Linked DNA regions of Homo sapiens: all the other regions are linked to region 1. Evidence: promoter capture Hi-C in 16 types of primary human blood cells and fetal thymus (Javierre and others, 2016). All regions are on one chromosome and are shown on one strand. Each heading gives the region's core, a stretch centred on a gene start or on the middle of the fragment in contact. The rest is flanking DNA. Distances are from core to core; before and after follow the strand shown.

Region 1 (2,700 bases), core at 178-2,677:
GATAAAATGCCATTGCTTCCCTTCGTCTGGGATGGCAGGGTGGGAGCTGAGATTCCAAAAGCTCCAACTCCGACCGCGCACTCCTGGAAGCCTCCCCGCCAAAGGCGCCGCCGGGCGGCGCAGCCCAGTCTCCCGAGACGGCGGGCCCGGGTCCTCCGGTTCCCACGGGACGCCGGGACCCGGACCTCTGGGAAAGTTCGCGGGCACAGCCCGAGGCCCCACTTTCTGCCGAGAGTGACAGGCCCTTCCCACGCCTGCCGGCCCCAGCCCAGCCGCGGGCACCAGACGGTCCGCGCGGCCCCTCCTGGCCGCCTCGGGGCGCAGATTCCGCCCGCCCGCCCTATCCCCGGCCGAGGCGCCCCTCGGGGTGACCGACTGACCGGAGCTCCGCTGGCCCACACACCGGGTCGCCCGCTCCTTCCCGCCGCGCCCCGCTCCCCCGCCCGAGCTTCCAGCCGCCGGCTCGCCAAGTCCGGCCGCGGCCGCCGGTTACCGCCCCCAGCCCGGGGGGAGCCCGGGGGGCAGGACGGGGAGGAGGACGTGGCGTGCTCGGAGGTGGCCAGCAGCGGGGCGGGGAGTGTCCCGGAGAGGCCCAGCCGGGGACGGGGGGGCCAGGCCGGCGCGGGCTCGGGACCCTCCCCGCGAGCATCCCCGGGTTCGAGGCCCCCGACCGCCCCCGCCGGCGCGGAGAGGCGGCCCCAACTTCCAGCCCCACTTCGCACTCCCGCCCTCTTCCCTCCACCATATGGAAATCTACAGCCTCAGAAAGTGACACGTCGAAGATTCCTCGGCCTCGCCGCCCGCCCTCCCCCTCCTGGGCAGCGTTCCTGCCGCGGAGATTCCGGGAGGGGGAGCGGATTCCTCGGACAAAATCTGCTGGGAAGGCTGGGGGTGGGGGGAGGCCGCGAGCCACTGCCCAATTTTTTTTAAGAGGAATCTACCCGTTTCTTTCACTCCTCCAAACCCTGAGGCAGGGGGCACAGGCGGGGGACCCCAGCCCAGCAAGGCGGGGGCCGCCCCCTCCCGGGTCCCGTGTTCCCGGGGTGCCCAGGCGAGCACGGGGCGCCCCAGCACTCCGGCGCCAAGTTTTTGCCGGGAAGCCCAGGGCGCTCCCGGGACAGGGACGCACTTTGGCGGACTCGGCGTCAGGCCGGGGCTTTCCAGTGCACCGGGACCCGGCGATCGCGCTCGGGGTCCCGGTCTCCTCTAGTCCCCGGCTCTTGCACGCCTTACCTTCCCTAGGGCTGAAACGCGGGGCTCTGGGCGCGCCACACACCGGGTCGCCCACGCCTTCCCAGCCGGCAGCCTGGAGGATCCCTGCCGCCCCCTTCGCTGCTCCCGCCGCCGCCGCTCTCCTCCTCCAGCCGCCGCCGCCGCCGCTCAAATAACTACCAGGAGGGTTTGATGGGGGATTCCGCCATGTCAATGATGTCGGGACCACATGGGGATTTGGGGCCCGCCCATTACCGTAAACCGCCGAATATACCGGCCGCCACAATCGCAGACTCGCAGAAGCTGTTGTCCCCCGGCCCTGCCTAGCTAAGCAGAAACTCCTTTTGGTTCAGCCAGACTAAAGAAACCTGAGGCTTAGGGAACTAACAACTCCTGAATGGCGAGGGCTGCGCGTTCTGCAGATCGCCAAAGTAATATAAAGGCAATGTTTACTCAGTGATAATTAAGCCTAAAACTGACTTTTTTTCATTTACACATATATTTCGCTTTTTGTTGTTGTTAACCCCCACAGCAACCTTGTGAGCTATATTACTCCCACATTTCCCACAGCATTTTATTCATACAACTAACATAGTATGAGCAATTTTTATTATACTTAAGTTAAAATCTCTCTTTCCTCTTTCTTTTTGTTTTTTGTTTTTTGTTGTTGTTGTTGTTTGTTTTGGGGACTGCAGGCACGGGGCAGGCATGAGCCACCGCACCCTTTTTTTTTTTTTTTTTTTTTCCTTTTTTGGAAGAGAGGGGGTCTCAATAGGTTGCCCAGGCTGGTCTGGAACTCTGTCGCTCAAGTGATTCTCCCGCCTTGGCCTCCCAAAGTGTTGAGATTACAGGCGTGAGCCAACTCACCCAGCCTTATTTCACAATGCGTTTCTCAGGGACAAAGACTGTTTCTTACTTTTATCTTTATATCCGTAAAATATAGCACAGTGCAAGGACCACAATAGGACTCATTAAATAACTGTTGAGTTCATATTAAGTCAAATGTAATGTATTTCTGTTGTACAGGCTCTAAGAGGTTAACAGACTGCATCCCATGCCACCCCTCAGATTATTCAGGAGACAAGAGAGCAAAAGTTAGCCTAGAGAAGCCCCTTCCATCCATAGCTGTCCAGGTATTCTGAATAGCTACATTCAGCCTCAACTATTAAGCTACAAAGGAGCATTCAGGGAGTCACTAGAGACAATGTATTACTTTTGTTAACCTAAAAAATAATAATAGCAGTACATAATACTCTGTTAAAGTCTAAAGAACACTAAGAAATAGCTCCTTCCTTCCCTTGTTCATTTGCCATTCTTTTGGGGAGATTTTAGCCTTTTTTTTTTTTTTTTGGAGGCAATGGTGAGTCCAGAGAAATGGGGACCTCTCTCCTAAATGGCTTATTTACTGTGGAGCTCCTCAAAGGGGAACTTGAAGCCATCTTTCTATAACATAACTCCAATTCTAGGTCATAGTCCTGCATGAGAAGC
Region 2 (2,700 bases), core at 73-2,572, 190 kb before region 1:
AGAATAATCTAATTTTAGATTAGAAAAGAACCCCAGAGATCCTGAAACACTTTCCTCTCTCCGCTTCCCTCCATGAGATAAAAATCACTCCAGCCAGATAGCCAAATTTTGATAAATGCCTATTATGTGCTGGGTACCTTTCAAGGAACTAGAGATCAAGTGATGAACAGGACTGAACAGGACACACAAGGTCCCTGCCTTTGTGGACTTAAATGCTAAAAGGAAGACAGACAATGATCAAGTAAACAAGTGACACACCCAAATAAATCACTTAATATTCCTAAAATCACACAGAGAGTTGGATGTAGAGCCTCGCTTGGGCCCTCGTTTCCTCCCACTAATCCCATGTTCTATTATGTCACGATGCCGGGATCACAGAAACAAAGGAAAGAAATCAAAGAGAAAATGCAGAACAGGGAGAAGGCTCAGAAAGACGAAACTGCACAATACTTTGAGGGGAGGGGATGTCCTTGGTACATTTCTTTAATTTAGCATTGCCAACCCTGTCTGTAATTGCTCCTTGGACAAAATAAGCCACAAGATAAAAAATAAAATTGCTTCAAATCCATTGATAACTGAAACGAAATATCTAAGTACTATGCTGTTTTCCATGGAACACAATACCAACCCCCATGCACACAATGTACACTATGGAACAATTCCCTAACTTCCTATAGAGAAATCAGTTCCTCTGAAGGACCAAGAGTGTTGAAAGAGAATCCAATTCTCCTTATTGGCCACCAAATGGGTCTGAATCTCAGTTTCTCAGGGCATAGGGCAGTCCCCCATGTGCCTTTCTGTTATCATTTTCACAACGTTGAAGGTGAAACAAAGCAGTGGTTTAATCCCCAGCTGTAATTACCAAAGGGAAGCAGTTGAGGCTAATGTCTATAGCTCAGCTGGCTTGGCTAAGCGAAATGGGGGGAAAGTATTGCACAGCTTCCACCTAACAGGCCCCACTGTTTCTCCACAGAGGTGTCTGCTTTCTGGCCAGCTCTCCACTCATCATTGGCAAATGACCAACCAAACCAAAATTCAAATATATTTTTCAATACATTTCTTGTCTTTCCCTGGCTAAGGGAAATGAAATATATATAATTTCAACAGGTACTGACCCATTAATTAATCCCCAAAATAATCCAATGCGGTATTTTTGTTGTTTCTGCTCTCACAACAAAAATATTTATTTTGACTACTAACTTTTGGGATTACAACAGTTAATCTGGAAAAAGAAGAGTGGTTTCCCAAATGATAGAACATTAACTTGGAGGTTTCACTTTTTCTCTTCATATGCTTTTTAAATCCTTGGGTCAATATGAAGTTTTCCCTATAACATTTGAGCAAATGTATCATAAATTACTACGGAAGCATGGAAAATAAAACTCAAAGCATCTGCTTAAGAAATTTTTACATATAAATTATTCAGAAAGTTAATGGTGAGGTTAAAAAACAGAGAGCCATGGCCAGTATACAATGGAAGGAAAATTTTCCTTCACACCATGTGATTTCAATATGTATTTAGGAGGGCAAGCTCTGCCAAACTTCCATTGGAACTGTTGTAACAGTCTTTTTCATTGTAGTAGCTACTACTTACTGAGTGCCACACCTCACATAACATTTCTCCTAATTCTTACCTCTACCACGTCAAGTAGGTGTTCACATATGTGGTGAAATAATTTATCAAAGTTACACAGAAAGTAGCCAAGATGGAATCTGAAGAAAGGCCTCTCCAGGTAACGTCCATGTTCTCCTTCAGTTTCAACTCTAATCACACTCACAAGTGCTTTTACATAATGGAGATGATGACTGTGATAAGATTAAATTCCCACTTACCTAAATCCACTTTCTCATAGTTTAAAAAAAGGTCTATATTTTCTCTCAAGTTGAAAAGAATCCCTCTACCTCTCATCCCACTAAAAAATAAGGCACAAAACACACCACATCCCCCAACCTACTATATCAGAGAAACCACCAAGCTGAAATGACAGGATTCCACTGTTTTTGCACCCTAAGTCCACAGTTATCTGTAAGGTCCACCAATTCAGCCCTTCTCAACCTAAGAAAACAAAGCTCGTGCTGTTGATTGCACCTCCACAGCTGTCTGTTAAACTTCAGGAGTTTATTATCTGCTTATTACTGACATTTGTATTTTGTCAGATTTGACCAATTTTATTAATTTATCTTTAAAGGACTTTCGGCTATTTAATTATACAACAAATCTGCTATAATCAAGAACTTCTCTATTCAATCAGATTAGAGTTATTACCATAAAATCTTGATTTACTTGCCTCCCTCTTCAATTTTCTTACAATTAAAGACCATACTGGCAGGGTGTGGTGGCTCACACCTGTAATCCCAGCACTTTGGGAGGCTGAGGCAGGTGAATCACTTGAAGTCAGGAGTTTGAGACCAGCCTGACCAACATTATGAAACCCCATCTCCGCTAAAAATATAAAAATTAGCCAGGCATGGTGATGCGCGCCTGTAATCCCACCTCCTTGGGAGGCTGAGGCACGAGAATTGCTTGAACCCAGGAGGCAGAGGTTGCAGTGAGCCAAGATCATGCCACTGCACACCAGCCTGGGCGTCAGAGCAAGACTCCATCTCAAAAAAAAAAAAAAAAAAACGGTAAATAAAGACCATACAATGCACAAGCAGTTGGTGTTTTAGAAATGGAGATGCATAAGTAGGCACAACACA
Region 3 (2,700 bases), core at 91-2,590, 190 kb after region 1:
TGTTTCTTTCCTTTCAAAAAGTTGAAAAATGCTGCAGAATTTCAGTTGCCTGTTATTTTTGTAGCTGCCAGCTTGAATTTTGCTTTGTTTACATAAAACTTTGAAAAAGATCTTTCATGCAGTAGGCTGAGTATGAATGCCTTCAGTAACTTGTTAAATCCACCCTGCAAATTGAAAGGCAGCTCAAGAGGTTAGCGCACCCATCTTTATTGGTGCTCCCCGCCAGACATGGGAGATAGAATAGGGCTATTTTCCCCAAGATGCGCAGACTTCCCCTTTTCTTTCTTCCATTTCTTCTTGAAAATTATATTTTTAGATAGGGAGGAGAAAAGAATGAAAAAGGAAGAGATTTGAGGGTAGGCAGGACAAGTCAAGGGGAAGAGAAAATGTGAGAGAGGGAGTGTCTGAGGGGGGAATAGTTGGCTGAAGAGGAGGCCAGGTTATGAGGAAGGGGAGAGTGGAGGCTGTGTCTGGCAGTGAGTGGGGAAAGAAGAGAGGGCCCCCATCCTGCACTCGCCTCCCTCAGCTCTCCTTGACATGCTGCTGCCTTGCTTTCTGGGCGCTTCCAGGGATATCAGCTGGGTTTTGCAACAATTACTGCTAACACTTTGATTGCATGATCATTGTGAACCCTCCCACTAAATCTTTAAATTGCCTAAGTAGAGGACGTAGTTCCCAGAAGTAGATGAATTGAAGGAAGCAGGGAGCCCTCACAATAGAAATAGAAACTTTAAGAGGTATCATATTAATATGGTTAATTTATTCACTTACAAGCATCTGTTATGAGTCTACTGCAAACAAGCAATGTGCTAGGTACTGTGCTGATAAAGTAATAATAAATGTTAACATGTATTGAGTGAGTGTTTAATATATGTTGAACACTTCACATGTGTTAACTCATTTAATCCTCACAATGACCTTATCATGTAGATATCCTCCCACTTTTAAAATGAGGCACAGAAAGGCTAAATAAGATGAACAAGATCCCCAAATAGTAATTGTACAAATAGTGGTTCTGACTGCCGCTGGAATTTACAGTTCAGGTGTAAAAATAATGCACACACGAGAATGGCTACAACACTAGGCAAGAAGGATGAATGTTTTCTGCATGAGAAGAGCTCAGAGATAAGGTATCACTTACAGGGGAAACATCGATGATAAAGGCACCATGGAGAAATAGGATCTGAAGTGGGTTTAAGGATGGATGTGATTTCAATGGGAGGTGACAGAGGGAGGGCAGCTCAGTCTGTGGGAGCAGCATGTGCAAAGGTGGGGAAGTGGCTGCCATGCTTAGGGAGCAGGGAGTGAGGAGTCCACACTGAAAGGAGGGCCAGTTCTTGGCAGAGAAGAGTAGAAAATCAGGATTGAAAGCCAGGTAATACCAGGGTGAGAAGGACCTCACAATGCAGTCTAGCACGTCTGAACTTTGTTTAGGGACAATGAAGCAACGTGAAAGATTTTTGAAGGACCTGTAGCCTGACTACTGAAGGGGTTTAGAAAGATGAGCCAGTTGTGTGCACACTAGATTGGAATACGGGGAGGCCTAGACATCTCTGTAGAACCCTGGTCTTCAGATTTATTTTTTCAACTCTAGCCACAATAACGAATACATTTTATGTCATAGTTATAAATATTTTTATATCTGACCAAAATAATATGTAACCATCATTATGCATCATATGCATTATGATGCATATAAAAGATATACAAATTTTGGTCAGATATAAAAAATGTGGTGCATTCTAATATTATCTATTCCATTCCACTCCACTCCACTCCACTCCACTCTACTCTGTTCTCCTCTGTTCTATTCTATTCTATTCTATTCTATTCTATCCTATTCTATTCTATTCTATGCATTTATTGTAAATACTGCTAGCTACTCAATAGATTGATTTTATAATTCACTAATGGATAGATTCCCACAGTTTGGCTATCAAAGTTACCTAGGCATAAAATCTGAGAAGTGATGGCAAGTGGTAAGGGGGTATAGAGTGAGATGGAAAAGGAAGGAATGCATAGGGGTATGCCTTGTAGGAAAAATTAAAGTTACATGGCAACTGATTAGAGTAGGGTTGGTGTTAGGCTGTAGGGCATTGCTGCCTGCAGTGTGGTCCTAGGACCAGCAGCATGGGCATCCTCTGGGAACTCATTAGACATGCAGACTCTCAGGCCCCACCCCAGACCTGCTGAATTAGAACCTGCATCTCATCAAGATCTGCTAATGATTTGTATGCACGTTACAGTTTGAGAAGGGATAGTTTAGAGGAACAGGTTGAGTCAAAATCACTCCAGTATTTGGAATTGAGTTACCAAGACAATGACAGGGAAGTTGGAGAAGAAAAAAAATGGTTTTGGTGACAAGATGATTAATTTGGTTTTAGACAAGTTGGCCTTAAAGCAGCTTAGGATATCTAAGTGGAAAAATGGACCATTGACATAGATTATTTGCTTGATCAAACTTTAGTCAGGTTCCTGAACCTTCTCCTAGGCCCATCTGTGTACTTTCTTGTAAAATCCAGTTTGAGCACAAGAACCCTGCTGCTGATGAGTCAGTTTAGCAAGAACCCCCCCTAGTCTCAATATCTGATCACCCTCTATAACTAGTCAGATTTCTCCTCCTCCCCCATCCCCACCGTGATGTCTGATCACCCTGGCCTGTCTTCAGCAAGAAAACTGGTAGGTCTGTATAGCCAGAAT
Region 4 (2,700 bases), core at 200-2,699, 170 kb after region 1:
TTTCCTTTTGAGATGGAGTCTTACTCTGTTGCCCAGTCTGGAGTGCAATGGCATGGTCTCAACTCACTGCAACCTCCACCTCCTGGGTTTCTGTACCTCAGATTCTCCTGCCTCAGCCTCCCGAGTAGCTGGGATTACAGGTGCTCACCACCATGCCCAGCTAATTTTTGTATTTTTAGTAGAGATGGGGTTTCTCCATGTTGGCCAGGCTGCTCTTGAACTCCTGACCTCAGTCAGGCCTCCCAAAGTGCTGGGATTACAGTCGTCAGTCACCGTGCCCGGCCTGATTCAGTTTTTCATTCATTGTCACTGAAGTCTAGCAATATCAGCAAGGTGCTATTCGCAAAGAAATGCCCACAAATACTAACTTGATACTTTTTCTCATATCCCTATTTGTTTATTTATAAAACAAATCAGATGTAATAATTACAAACCTTAAATCATATAATATATTTTAGTTGATTTTTGATTGAGTGTAACACATAGTTAAATGTAATTCTAAAGTTTAGTATACTTTGGCCTCCTAAAGTATACAAAATCCTAAACATAACACAATGTTAACTATAACATTTGTCCAAAAAATCATGTTTTTATGACATATTCAGTTTAATCTTAATTAAATAGAATGGTACTTGTTAAATGGAAAAAGTACAAATTTACCTAACTATATTATGAATATTATAAATATTATATTAAATTTTGTGTTACAATCTTTTAAAACAACTTTGTACCATAATAAAATGATGCAATTTTTTAGCTGAGAGTTTTTATGAGATTATTATTATGAAAGGGGCTTTAAACCACAGAATGATAGGAAATACTGGTCTAGTCCACTTTGTTTTATAGATGAGTTAACCAAGACCCTGAAAAGGAAGTGGATGGCTCAGTCCGTTAAAATTAAGCCTAGGCTTCTTGACCAACTAGCAAAGCTTCATATTACGTAACTCTAGGGGGCGCTGTTCAAATTGTTGTGGTGCCATTTTCATAGACTAATGAGATCGGTGGTCTCCGGAGTTGTGCAGTGCAATGGCCTTGGCTTTTAGTTACTCAATGCTTAATCTGTGAAAATCCCTGTTGTTAATCTTGCTTAGGTATTTTCCTGAAGTTTTCAATATATTATTTGCAAGACCTCTAAGTTCTTAATTTCTTTCTTCCAAACTGAGGCCCACATGAGAAAAGGCAATAAAGAAGCATTGGCAGCTGGGCGCGGTGGCTCACACCTGTAATTCCAGCACTTTGGGAGGCCGAGGCAGGTGGATCACGAGGTCAGGAGTTTGAGACCAGCCTGTGCAATATGGTGAAACCCCATCTCTACTAAAAAAAAAAAACAACACACAAAAATTAGCCAAGTGTGGTGGTGCGTGCCTGTAGTCCCATCTACTCGGGAGGCTGAGGCAGGAAAATCGTTTGAATCCAGCAGGCAGAGGTTGCAGCGAACCGAGATCACACCACTGCACTCCAGCCTGGGCAGCAGAGACTCCGTCTCAAAAAAAAAAAAAAAAAAAAAAAAAAAAAAAAAAAAGCATTAGTTCACTTGACAGTTAATCAGATTGTATTTTTCTTTTTAAATCAGGCCTTATGCTGGGGGCTACACATCAGAGTTGAACTGTCATGCTGTCTGCCCTCAAAAAGTTTGAAATTGGTCAAGAAGCAATATATCAAGAACATGATAAGGGTGTACTATTAGGGATCTGCCATAGACTGCAATGCTGGCACAAAGGAAGAAGTGATCTGTTCTGTCCGGGGATGGTTGAAAGAAGAAAAGCCTCACAGAGAAGGTAACACTGTTTGCCATGGGAGATTTAATAAAAGAAAAGCAGAAATTAGTTGTAAATAAAATTGGCCTAGATTAAAACTGTCTTATAGTCCACACCATTCAGTGCTAGATTTATTATAAATTCAAAGCAAGGTATCATTTGTATCCGATATGTGACCAGGATTAACTGGAGAGTATTCAGGAAAAGCTTCCGTACCTCTTTGTCTAGAGTGGTAGGCAGGAGGCCTCTAATTTCCTCTACTAAGTTCTTACAATGCCTTTTGATTAATGATGAGATGTGAAACTGAGTATTTACCCTCAGTGACAAGAGTGTGACCCGCATTAAATCCAATCACTTTGTCTGGGTCTCTTATAGGCCTGAAACTTTTAGCATCTTTCTGGGTTCCTCTCCTGTCCCATGTGCTGTTACCAAGTCCTGTGGAGTCTACCTTCTAAATGTCTCTCAAAGGTATCACCTCGGCTGGGCGCGGTGGCTCACTCCTGTAATCCCAGCACTTTGGGAGGCTGAGGCGGGCAGATCACGAGGTCAGGAGATCGAGACCATCCTGGCTAACACAGTGAAACCCTCTCTCTACTAAAAAATACAAAAAATTAGCCAGGCGTGGTGGCGGGCGCCTGTAGTCCCGGCTACTCTAGAGGCTGAGGCAGCAGAATGGCGTGAACCCGGGGGGCGCAGCTTGCAGTAAGCCAAGATTGCGCCACTGCACTCCAGCCTGGACGACAGAGCCAGACTCTGTCTCAAAAAAAAAAAAAAAAAAAAAAAAAGGTATCACCTCCTCTCCATACCCACTGTTGCTGACTAATTCAGATCCTGTTATTCTTCATCTGTTCTCTTGGTCCTCCTGGCCCAAGCCTCATTTCCCTTTAATCCCTGTAAGTCAATGGCAGGCAGGATGTGTCTTGCTCATATTTCTGTCTCTAAC
Region 5 (2,700 bases), core at 29-2,528, 170 kb before region 1:
CTTGATTGTTAATAAAAATCCTCTAAGTTGTCCGGCAGCTGGGACCTAATAATGGGCTGTGAGATGATTAGTTTGATGTATATAGTTCCAGTCTCTGCCTTACCTAAACCACACAGAAGGGGTCCGGAAAGTAAATGAGAGTTCTTACAGACCAGCCTGTTGATTTTACTCTTTTGTTTGTAAGTGAAAAACAAAGGGCAGGCTAAGGGCTGAGGGTAAACAACAACTACAAATAGGTTAGGCTCTCTTACCTCTGAAGTGTTTGGCGTCTGATCAAGGGCAGTCAGTAAACACCCCCAAGCAATTGTGGGAAAGTTGGTCACCTAGACTGCTATTTTCTCAGCCATAAAAATGAACTGACAAAGTTATTGTTTGAGAGGCACCAGACTGCTTTATGGCGCGGCACCATAGATGCTTCTAATTTTGGCACATTGCCTCCACAGAAACAAGCAATTTTTACTAAACAAGCTACAATTTCACTTTCAAAAACCAACCCTTCATCTACTACTAAGGGGGCCTGAGACAAATCAAAATCAAGGGTCTACATTTGGGGTAACAGGCTACCAGAAAGGTCTCCTAACTGATTCACTGCTGTTTATCCTGAGCTGAAAAAGCAACAAGAACAGATACATTTTAAAGTTAGCTCCTCAAAACAACTACTAAGCCTTTGGGGTTTGCTAATCTGGAAAGGCTAAAAAACCGAGGCCGTATTAGGATAGGTAAGAATGGGGAGAAGGCAAAATTACCAGGTAATCACTAAAAACAAGACTACATCAAAATGGGGAGTTTTGCATATAGTACTATCACTGGTTAAGCAAGAGTATGAGCACAAACAAATGATATGCATGATATATAAATATGAGCAACTCATAAATCCCTTCAAGGCAAAACTTTAGGATTATACTCCTCCCTTTTCCAGACATCCCTACTCAGACAAAACTGTGAATACTGAGAAGATAGGAGTTTCTTCATCACCTTATCTCTATCACTGCCTTTGAGAAACCACTGTGGTTTATGACTTGTCTTCCCCATGACTTAAACTGTAAAAGAATCCCCATGTTCCCATGTGCGTATGCTCACATGGCCTGAGGTCCAATGAGACGCACCTTTGGCCTCATACTTGTCTAGGGATCACATTCACTTTTAGATGAGTAAAACACTGTCAAAGTATTTGAGTAAAAATTTTCTGGCCACAGATCTGAGGTCAGGTCTGTTAGGCTGTCTGCACAGAAATGTTACTAAAATCAAGTGGAGAACAGATAAGGAGAAAGAAGGATCTGGGGCAGAAAGCTGATCCTCTCTTTGAAAAAGAAGGGAGGAACCAGACAGATACCTAACATGGAAGAAAAAGAAAAAGGAAGGAAATAATTTCATGGATTGGTGTGTAAACTACAAACAAGGCAGAAAAGCCACAACCAGAAAATACATGTACCCAATTAATCTCAACTGAATTGTTTTCCAACTGTCCTCGTGATACATTAAGAGATCTGTGACCATAGCATATGCATGATATTCAAAACGGTAACTGATACAAATCACAGGAATCCAGAGGCTGGTCACTGGTCCATTTCAGCTTTCCAATAGTATTTTTTAAAGTTCTTCTCTTCAGTCCATCCCCATCAAAACCAAATGGCTCAGTGGAGATATGGGATTCAGTCTGTATGGCCCTGGGCAAGTTACTTAATTGTTCATGATACAAAGTAAAAGAGAAGAAACCTGATAATTTCTGTGCTTCCTTCTAGAGTAATATGCTGGGTGGTAGTGGTGGTACTGGTGTCACGTAGGTCTGTGCTTGCAGATTCTAGAAAACAGGTGTTAGCTGACAATTTCTAAATTCTTCCTGCTATCATCCTCAAATGTGCTACGTCAAAATTTCTAGGCCTTTTTGAAAATGTAGATTTCCAGGCCTTCAGAGTCTGCTTCTCCCCACAAGCAGCCCAACTTCCTCAGGCCATCCCTGATCACTGGTTTTGATGCAGATGTGCTACGGACCAGTTCAGAAGAATGACTTGGAAAGAACGCGGTAAAAAATAAATAGAAAGTAGAAAAAAACAGGCTCATTCAAGATCCTTGAAGCACATCTCATTTGTAGTTACCTTGAGTCCAATTAGCTAAGTTTTAATTTCATCACAATGTTTAAAAGTAAAGAGGGAAAAAGAGTCATTAACAGAGTTCCATAAACTTTATCCTATTAATGGATATTTAATTGAATATGCTTCAGCTGGCAAAGATGACTATAATTTGGCTAAAAATAGTCCCCCAGCTTTAGTCATAATAAAGCAACCACTGTTTTACTTCCATGGCAACAACAAAATGATCACAGGATTTTATATAATATAGGATAATAAGCACTCTATGAAGAATCAGTCTATGCAATTATTGCTGTTTATTTATATGATTAATGGTCCCTGGTGATCGTTTAATATGAAATAGTATACATCTAAGAATAAGGAAGTAGGTAGAACAGCTGATAAAACATTTATAAACATCTTTAATTGACAGCTAAGATCAAAGAATTGGAATTCTCTTGGGGATCTTAACAGTCATCCAGACCAATTCCCCATTTAATGCTTGAAGTTTTGAACAAAATTTCTAACAAGTAGCAGAATACTTCAATGTAGAGTTTACTATCTCAAAATGCAGAGAAATTCCATTTTTTAATAATCCTAACTGGTAAAGGGTTTCCCCTTTTTCAAAGGC
Region 6 (2,700 bases), core at 180-2,679, 220 kb before region 1:
ATATGGCAGTATGACTTCTAGAAGAGTTCACATAAGCTGCTACCTATATGTTAGTCACACAAAAGGAACTCTTCCATCACTAGTATATATTTATCATGATACAGATAGTACAAGGAACATACTTCAACTTAAACCAAGTGTTCCAACTGAATGCCTCCCACCCGCCGCTTTCCCACCCCTGCCATTTAAAATCTTGGTTAAAAATTGCTTGGCACTCAAAGAGCCAGCAGTTCTCAAATGCTACTGTGGCTTATTATTACCTGGAGTGCCTGATGAAACATAGATTGGTGGGCCCCACCTACACAGCCTGTATTCAGTAGGTCTGGGGCAGGTCATAAGGGTACATGTCTCACAAGCTTCTAGATGGTACTGATACTGCTGGTCTGAGCCCATGAGTAGCCAGGACCCAGGTGAGGGCTGGATCCCTGGGAAAGCCTTGTGGAGGGTGACAAGGACCCAGGTCCTCCACTCAAACCACTGGAGTTCTAGTGCTGTCTGCTTTCAGAGTGCGTGTGTGTGTGTGTGTGTGTGTGTGTGTGTGTGTGTGTGTATGAATGCGTGTGATGTGGTAGGGGTGAAGGGATACTGTATTTAAAACTGGTAATCCACACAAGATTGCCTGAAAAGAGAGGCAATGTGCTCATTGATAAGATTTTGAAAATCACTGACTGTAACTCACCTGTTCATTTTACTGAAAGGGAAACCACGGCTTAGTGAAATGACATGTTCTATGTCACACAGTCCAGAACGCCGATTATTTAAAATCTTACAATTCCATTCTGTTTTTAAAATGTAAAAGTCATATATGAAAAAGACATCCTCACTCTTAGGGTAAGCCCCAGGAACAAAGTGAAAGTCAACAATGTCAACTGCACACAGCAAATTTTTATACATAAAAAAGTGTTTGGAGGCCAGGCGCAGTGGCTCACACCTGTAATCCCAGCACTTTGGAAGGCTGAAGTGGGTGGATCACCTGAGGTCAGGAGTTCAAGACCAGCCTGGCCATCATGGCGAAACCCCATCTCCACTAAAAATACAAAAATTAGCCAGGCATGGTGGCAGGTGCCTGTAATCCCAGGAGAATTGCTTATAACCTGGGAGGTGGAGGTCTCAGTGAGCCGAAATTGCGCCACCGCACTCCAGCCTGGGCGACAGAGCCAGATTCTGTCTCAAAAAAAAAAAAAAGTTTGGAAATTGTGACTTTACACTCTTGATTTCCTCTCCCTTCACCATCTGCCCACATATACACACAAACACACACACATACATATTATTGAGACTACTTAGGTCTTTTAAAATTAAACAGTGGATCCTCATCAAAGCTTTTGTTTTTTACTCTAAATTCACCTAATTATTTCTATAACAATATTAGCAGATAACCTAACTGCTTTCTGAGGGGCTATAACTGGCTGAAAATTGAAGGATTTCAGTTAGAAAACTGGATCCTGACTCACTGTATCCCACTCAATAACTTCCTTAAAATATTGTGTGCTTTGGTTTTTTTATCAAGAATAAAATGGAAGAAATGAAGCTTCCTTCTCACTCAATGAAGAGCAACAGAAACTTCTTTAGCTTCTGCAGTGAAAGGCAATGTGACTATTTTAACTGGGTTTTGGCCACAGAACAGGCTCAAGGCCCAGCTCTTGCATAATACTCCGTACACAAGAACAAATTTTTCCATTCCTGTCCTTGAACATCTGTGGACTGGATGCCCAAGCACTGTTCTAAAATGAAATGCTGGGAGAGGAAGAGAAAAGGAAGGCAAAAACTCTTGAAATATTTTCCCTTAACTTATCTGCCATCATAATATGTTGGAGAGACAGGCAGGCTTCACAGAGGAGGTGATAACTGAGCTGGCTCTTGAAGGCCTGAGTTGGAGTTTGCTAGGCAGAGGAACTGGAAGGACAGGCCAAAAAAGGGGAATGAGGCATATTCACAAAATGGGGCAGAACACCGCATGTCTGGTGGGGAAATGTGAAGGGCCACAAGAGGTGAGTATGTGTCATATCATGCAGTTTAGACTTTATTCTCTAGACAGTGGGGAGCACCACAAAGGTTCTCAAGGAAGGAATTAAAATGTTGAGATCTATTTAACTGTAGTCACAAGAGAGGATGCACTGGAGAGGAAAATGAATAATCACACATCTTAAACCATAAGGTGGCCCTTCTGGGCAGTCTCTTAAGGTTCAGAGGGAGCAAAGAAAATCCTAAGAAACGTATGAGGAGACACCAGGGACCATGAGAAAGGAAGTCCCAAGAGGCTGTGCACCAGAGTTCTTTCTCACTCAGAGCTGGAAGTGCCCTAGGACGAGGTGACGAGGAGATGTGTGAGATCTGGTACCAATTCCACCAGAGAGGACCCCAAGGTATCTGTACGTTTCTACCCAGTGGCAACCTTTCTTAAAAGAGCCTGGAAGTGTCCAGGCACAGTGGCTCACGCCTGTAATCCCAACACTTTGGGAGGCTGAGGCCAGGAGTTGGAGACCAGGAGTCAAGGCCAGCCTGGCCAACATGGCAAAACCCCGCCTTTACTAAGAATACAAAAAAATTTGCCAGACGCAGTGGCTCACGCTTGTCATCCCAGCACTTTGGGAGGCCGAGGTGGGTGAATCACCTGAGGTCAGGAGTTCAAAACAAGCCTGGCCAACATGGTGAAACGCCATCTCTACTAAAAATGCAAAAAGTTAGCCAAGCATGGTG
Region 7 (2,700 bases), core at 67-2,566, 220 kb after region 1:
TAGTAGAGATGGGGTTTCACCATGTTGGCCAGGCTGGTCTTGAACTCTTAGCCTCAAGTGATCCACCCTCCTCGGCCTCCCAAAGTGCTGGGATTACAGGCATGAGCCACCATGCCTGGACCCTGTTATACTCTTAAGTATATTCATCATAGATAGTACAAACATCTAACCCCTTTATTATGTCTTTAGTGTGGTTTCTTCAAGAATTTTACATATTAAGAGACATTCTATTTTGTTATAATTTATTTTCTCTTATTTCTCTTTTATTTATTGTCAGTGTATTTTATGTATTTTTGAAATTAGGAATTAATTTCATTTCCAGATGACAAAGAAGACAATGCAAAAATAAAAAGGTGTGTTGTTCTGATAGGGCTGAGAGCAACTGAGCAAAAAAGAGCGATGTATTGAAGAAGAAAAATATATTTCCAGTGCACATGATTTCCACTATAAAAACAATGTTTTATGGAAAAAAAACTGTCTCAGTGCACTGATGGAACAGCTGCTTTGACTGGAATAAAACTTGAATTCTAGGATAAGGGTACAGAGATAGCTCCAAAAATAAATTTATTCACTGCTTTTAATAAAAAACCAAAATGTTCTTGTAGCAAAGAAGTTGAAGCTAGAAGTGCACAAATTTGCTGTAAGATTTTGTTGATGTAGTTGATGGTTAATTTTATGTGTCAACTTGATTGGACTAGGGGATGCCCAGATAGCTGATAAAACATTATTTTTGGATATGTTAGTGAGGGTGTTTCTGGGAGAGATTAGCATATGAATCCATAGATTGAGTAAAGAAGATCACCCTTGCCAACTTGGTTGAGCATCGTACAATCAATTGAGCTCCCCAAAAGAACAAAAAGGCTGAGGAAACATGAATTTACTCTCTTTGAGCTGGGACATTCATCTTCTCCTGCCTTAGGACATCTGCACTCTTTGTTCTCAGGCCTTGGAACTTGGACTGTGACATACCCCATTAGCTCCCCCTGGTTCTTCAGCCTTCAAGCTTGGACTGGAATGGTATCACCAGCTTTCTTGGGCCTCTAGCTTACAGAGTGGGGACTGTGGGACTTCTCAGTCTCCACAATTGTGCAAGCGAATTCCTAATGTAAATTCCTATTTTATATATCTCTCTGTATATCCTATTGGTTCTGTTTATCTGGAGAACCCTGACTAACACATATAGATAATATTATCAAAGACAGGCATTTGTAGTAAACTGTTCACTGTTCTCTGCAGAGATGATGAGTGATTATGAAAACATGCTGTATCACGGATGAGAACACTGGTTATATCATGCCAGAGTATGTTTCATAGTTGTCAAATTTATTTTCTTATTCTTATTTTCTAAAAACACTAGTGCTTTACATTCTGTCTTTTCTATGATAACAAGTATCTGCCAATTCTATGGTAGTAAAGCAGAATTTTAAAAAGAAATTAGCCTTGTCTCTTCAAAATAAAAGTGTCACTTTAATAACAAATTAGAGAGTTTCCACTTTTGAAGGCAACTGAGGCTATGGTGACGGCATTCTGAAAGCAGGCCTTTTGCAGTGCTTCCTTCTTAACTGATTGACTTCTGAAAGTACGTATCATCTATAAAACTTCTCATATCTGCTCACTTTAAAAAGCTTGGAAATAGACATTTCTAATTCAGTTAAAAAGTCTTCCCAACAATGACTCTCAAGTGGGTTTTGAATCTATTTGTTACATATAATTGTTAAAAATAGAAAAATGCAATGCTTCTGATTAGTTGACAAAAAATATTGATCTCTAAGACACTGGATGAATTGGTTGTGGTAGAAAAGTCTTCTTAAAGAGTTCTTGCTTATCTGCAGAGTTTACTCAATTCTGTTTTAATTCAGGTCCATGATCACCTATTCATAATTCTAAAATCCAAAATTTCTGAAAACCAAAAGTTTTATTTGTGACTCACTTGGCAGCAAAACCTGATCTGAATTGATCTGAAGCTGTTTACAGTCTATTTTTCCATGCGATATGCCTATTCACATCTTTTGCTGCAGAAATATGAGGGTGTTTAACTGTGGGGTGCAGCCCTAGACCTCGTCAGGGGTATTACATAATATATGCTATATGAATTGTATATAGTTTCTGAAATCCATAGAATTCTGAATATGATAAATTCATCTGATCCTAGGAGTTTTGGAGCTTGTGGAGTTATGCAAGTACCAGCACTGAATAGGAGATGAATAAAGAATTGCAGTATTCTTGACTGGCAAGGGTCTTTTCCAATGTATTTTAATGTTAAGGGTCTATAATTCTGAAATTTCTTGCCTGATTTTTTGTTGTTATAAGGATAGAAGAATCCCATTTTTGGGCAGAGGTTCTGTAATTCAGGGTCAGCATGTCAACTAACAGATTGTTCCACATACACATATTTTTTCCTACAGGGGAGTTCTGATTCCCAGGAACACCCTGAGGGCCACTGAAGCTGAGACGTTTCTGAGAAATTCTTTTGCTTTATGTGGGGTGTGGGGTAAGGGTGTCTTGACTGGCCTTACAAACTAGCCTAAGGCATGAGTTTAAAAGTGCACCTTTAAGGCAACAGATTGTACAAGTGTGAAAAACGATACCAGCAACAGTTTAGTGTGAGTGTCCACAGGATGACCTTTCTACTGGAAAATGAAGAATGATGCAGGAAGATGAAAATGTTTTCCAAACCCCTTGGCTATCAGCAAATGTTTG

The links. The method cuts DNA at HindIII sites, captures the fragments that hold promoters and counts their contacts. A CHiCAGO score of 5 or more calls a contact.
Region 2: a contact is called between a fragment that was not itself captured here and the fragment with the promoter of FNDC3B in region 1, in 4 of 17 cell types (monocytes, neutrophils, M2 macrophages and 1 more). The highest score is 10.8, in monocytes.
Region 3: a fragment that was not itself captured here is called in contact with the fragment with the promoter of FNDC3B in region 1 in 2 of 17 cell types (M0 macrophages and M2 macrophages); the score reaches 6.5 in M0 macrophages.
Region 4: a fragment that was not itself captured here is called in contact with the fragment with the promoter of FNDC3B in region 1 in 7 of 17 cell types (M2 macrophages, endothelial precursors, M0 macrophages and 4 more); the score reaches 17.1 in M2 macrophages.
Region 5: a contact is called between a fragment that was not itself captured here and the fragment with the promoter of FNDC3B in region 1, in 1 of 17 cell types (monocytes). The highest score is 5.4, in monocytes.
Region 6: a contact is called between a fragment that was not itself captured here and the fragment with the promoter of FNDC3B in region 1, in 13 of 17 cell types (M2 macrophages, M1 macrophages, monocytes and 10 more). The highest score is 14.2, in M2 macrophages.
Region 7: a fragment that was not itself captured here is called in contact with the fragment with the promoter of FNDC3B in region 1 in 5 of 17 cell types (monocytes, neutrophils, M0 macrophages and 2 more); the score reaches 7.7 in monocytes.

What each region holds. Positions count from the first base shown.
Region 1 is chr3:172,038,305-172,041,004 of GRCh38, reverse strand. FNDC3B (fibronectin type III domain containing 3B) reads right to left here and starts at 1,427. Exons shown (of 26, transcript NM_022763.4): 1 at 1,234-1,427. RefSeq lists silencers at 75-444, 505-754, 935-1,034, 1,175-1,354 and enhancers at 273-939, 940-1,607. The HindIII fragment of the contact is 7,479 bases long and covers 1-2,700 here.
Region 2 is chr3:172,231,806-172,234,505 of GRCh38, reverse strand. The region is part of intron 4 of FNDC3B (fibronectin type III domain containing 3B); the gene reads right to left. Among named protein-coding and RNA genes, the nearest start is that of FNDC3B, 190 kb to the right of the region's middle. The HindIII fragment of the contact is 6,909 bases long and covers 1-2,700 here.
Region 3 is chr3:171,847,717-171,850,416 of GRCh38, reverse strand. The region is part of intron 1 of TMEM212 (transmembrane protein 212); the gene reads right to left. Among named protein-coding and RNA genes, the nearest start is that of TMEM212, 5.7 kb to the right of the region's middle. The HindIII fragment of the contact is 9,391 bases long and covers 1-2,700 here.
Region 4 is chr3:171,866,429-171,869,128 of GRCh38, reverse strand. No RefSeq gene overlaps it. Among named protein-coding and RNA genes, the nearest start is that of TMEM212, 24 kb to the right of the region's middle. The HindIII fragment of the contact is 1,035 bases long and covers 932-1,966 here.
Region 5 is chr3:172,211,711-172,214,410 of GRCh38, reverse strand. All of the region lies in intron 3 of FNDC3B (fibronectin type III domain containing 3B), which reads right to left. Among named protein-coding and RNA genes, the nearest start is that of FNDC3B, 170 kb to the right of the region's middle. RefSeq lists enhancers at 1,060-1,119, 1,130-1,189. The HindIII fragment of the contact is 8,301 bases long and covers 1-2,700 here.
Region 6 is chr3:172,255,420-172,258,119 of GRCh38, reverse strand. The region is part of intron 6 of FNDC3B (fibronectin type III domain containing 3B); the gene reads right to left. Among named protein-coding and RNA genes, the nearest start is that of GHSR, 190 kb to the left of the region's middle. RefSeq lists a silencer at 1,817-2,012. The HindIII fragment of the contact is 209 bases long and covers 1,325-1,533 here.
Region 7 is chr3:171,816,088-171,818,787 of GRCh38, reverse strand. No RefSeq gene overlaps it. Among named protein-coding and RNA genes, the nearest start is that of PLD1, 7.0 kb to the right of the region's middle. The HindIII fragment of the contact is 622 bases long and covers 1,006-1,627 here.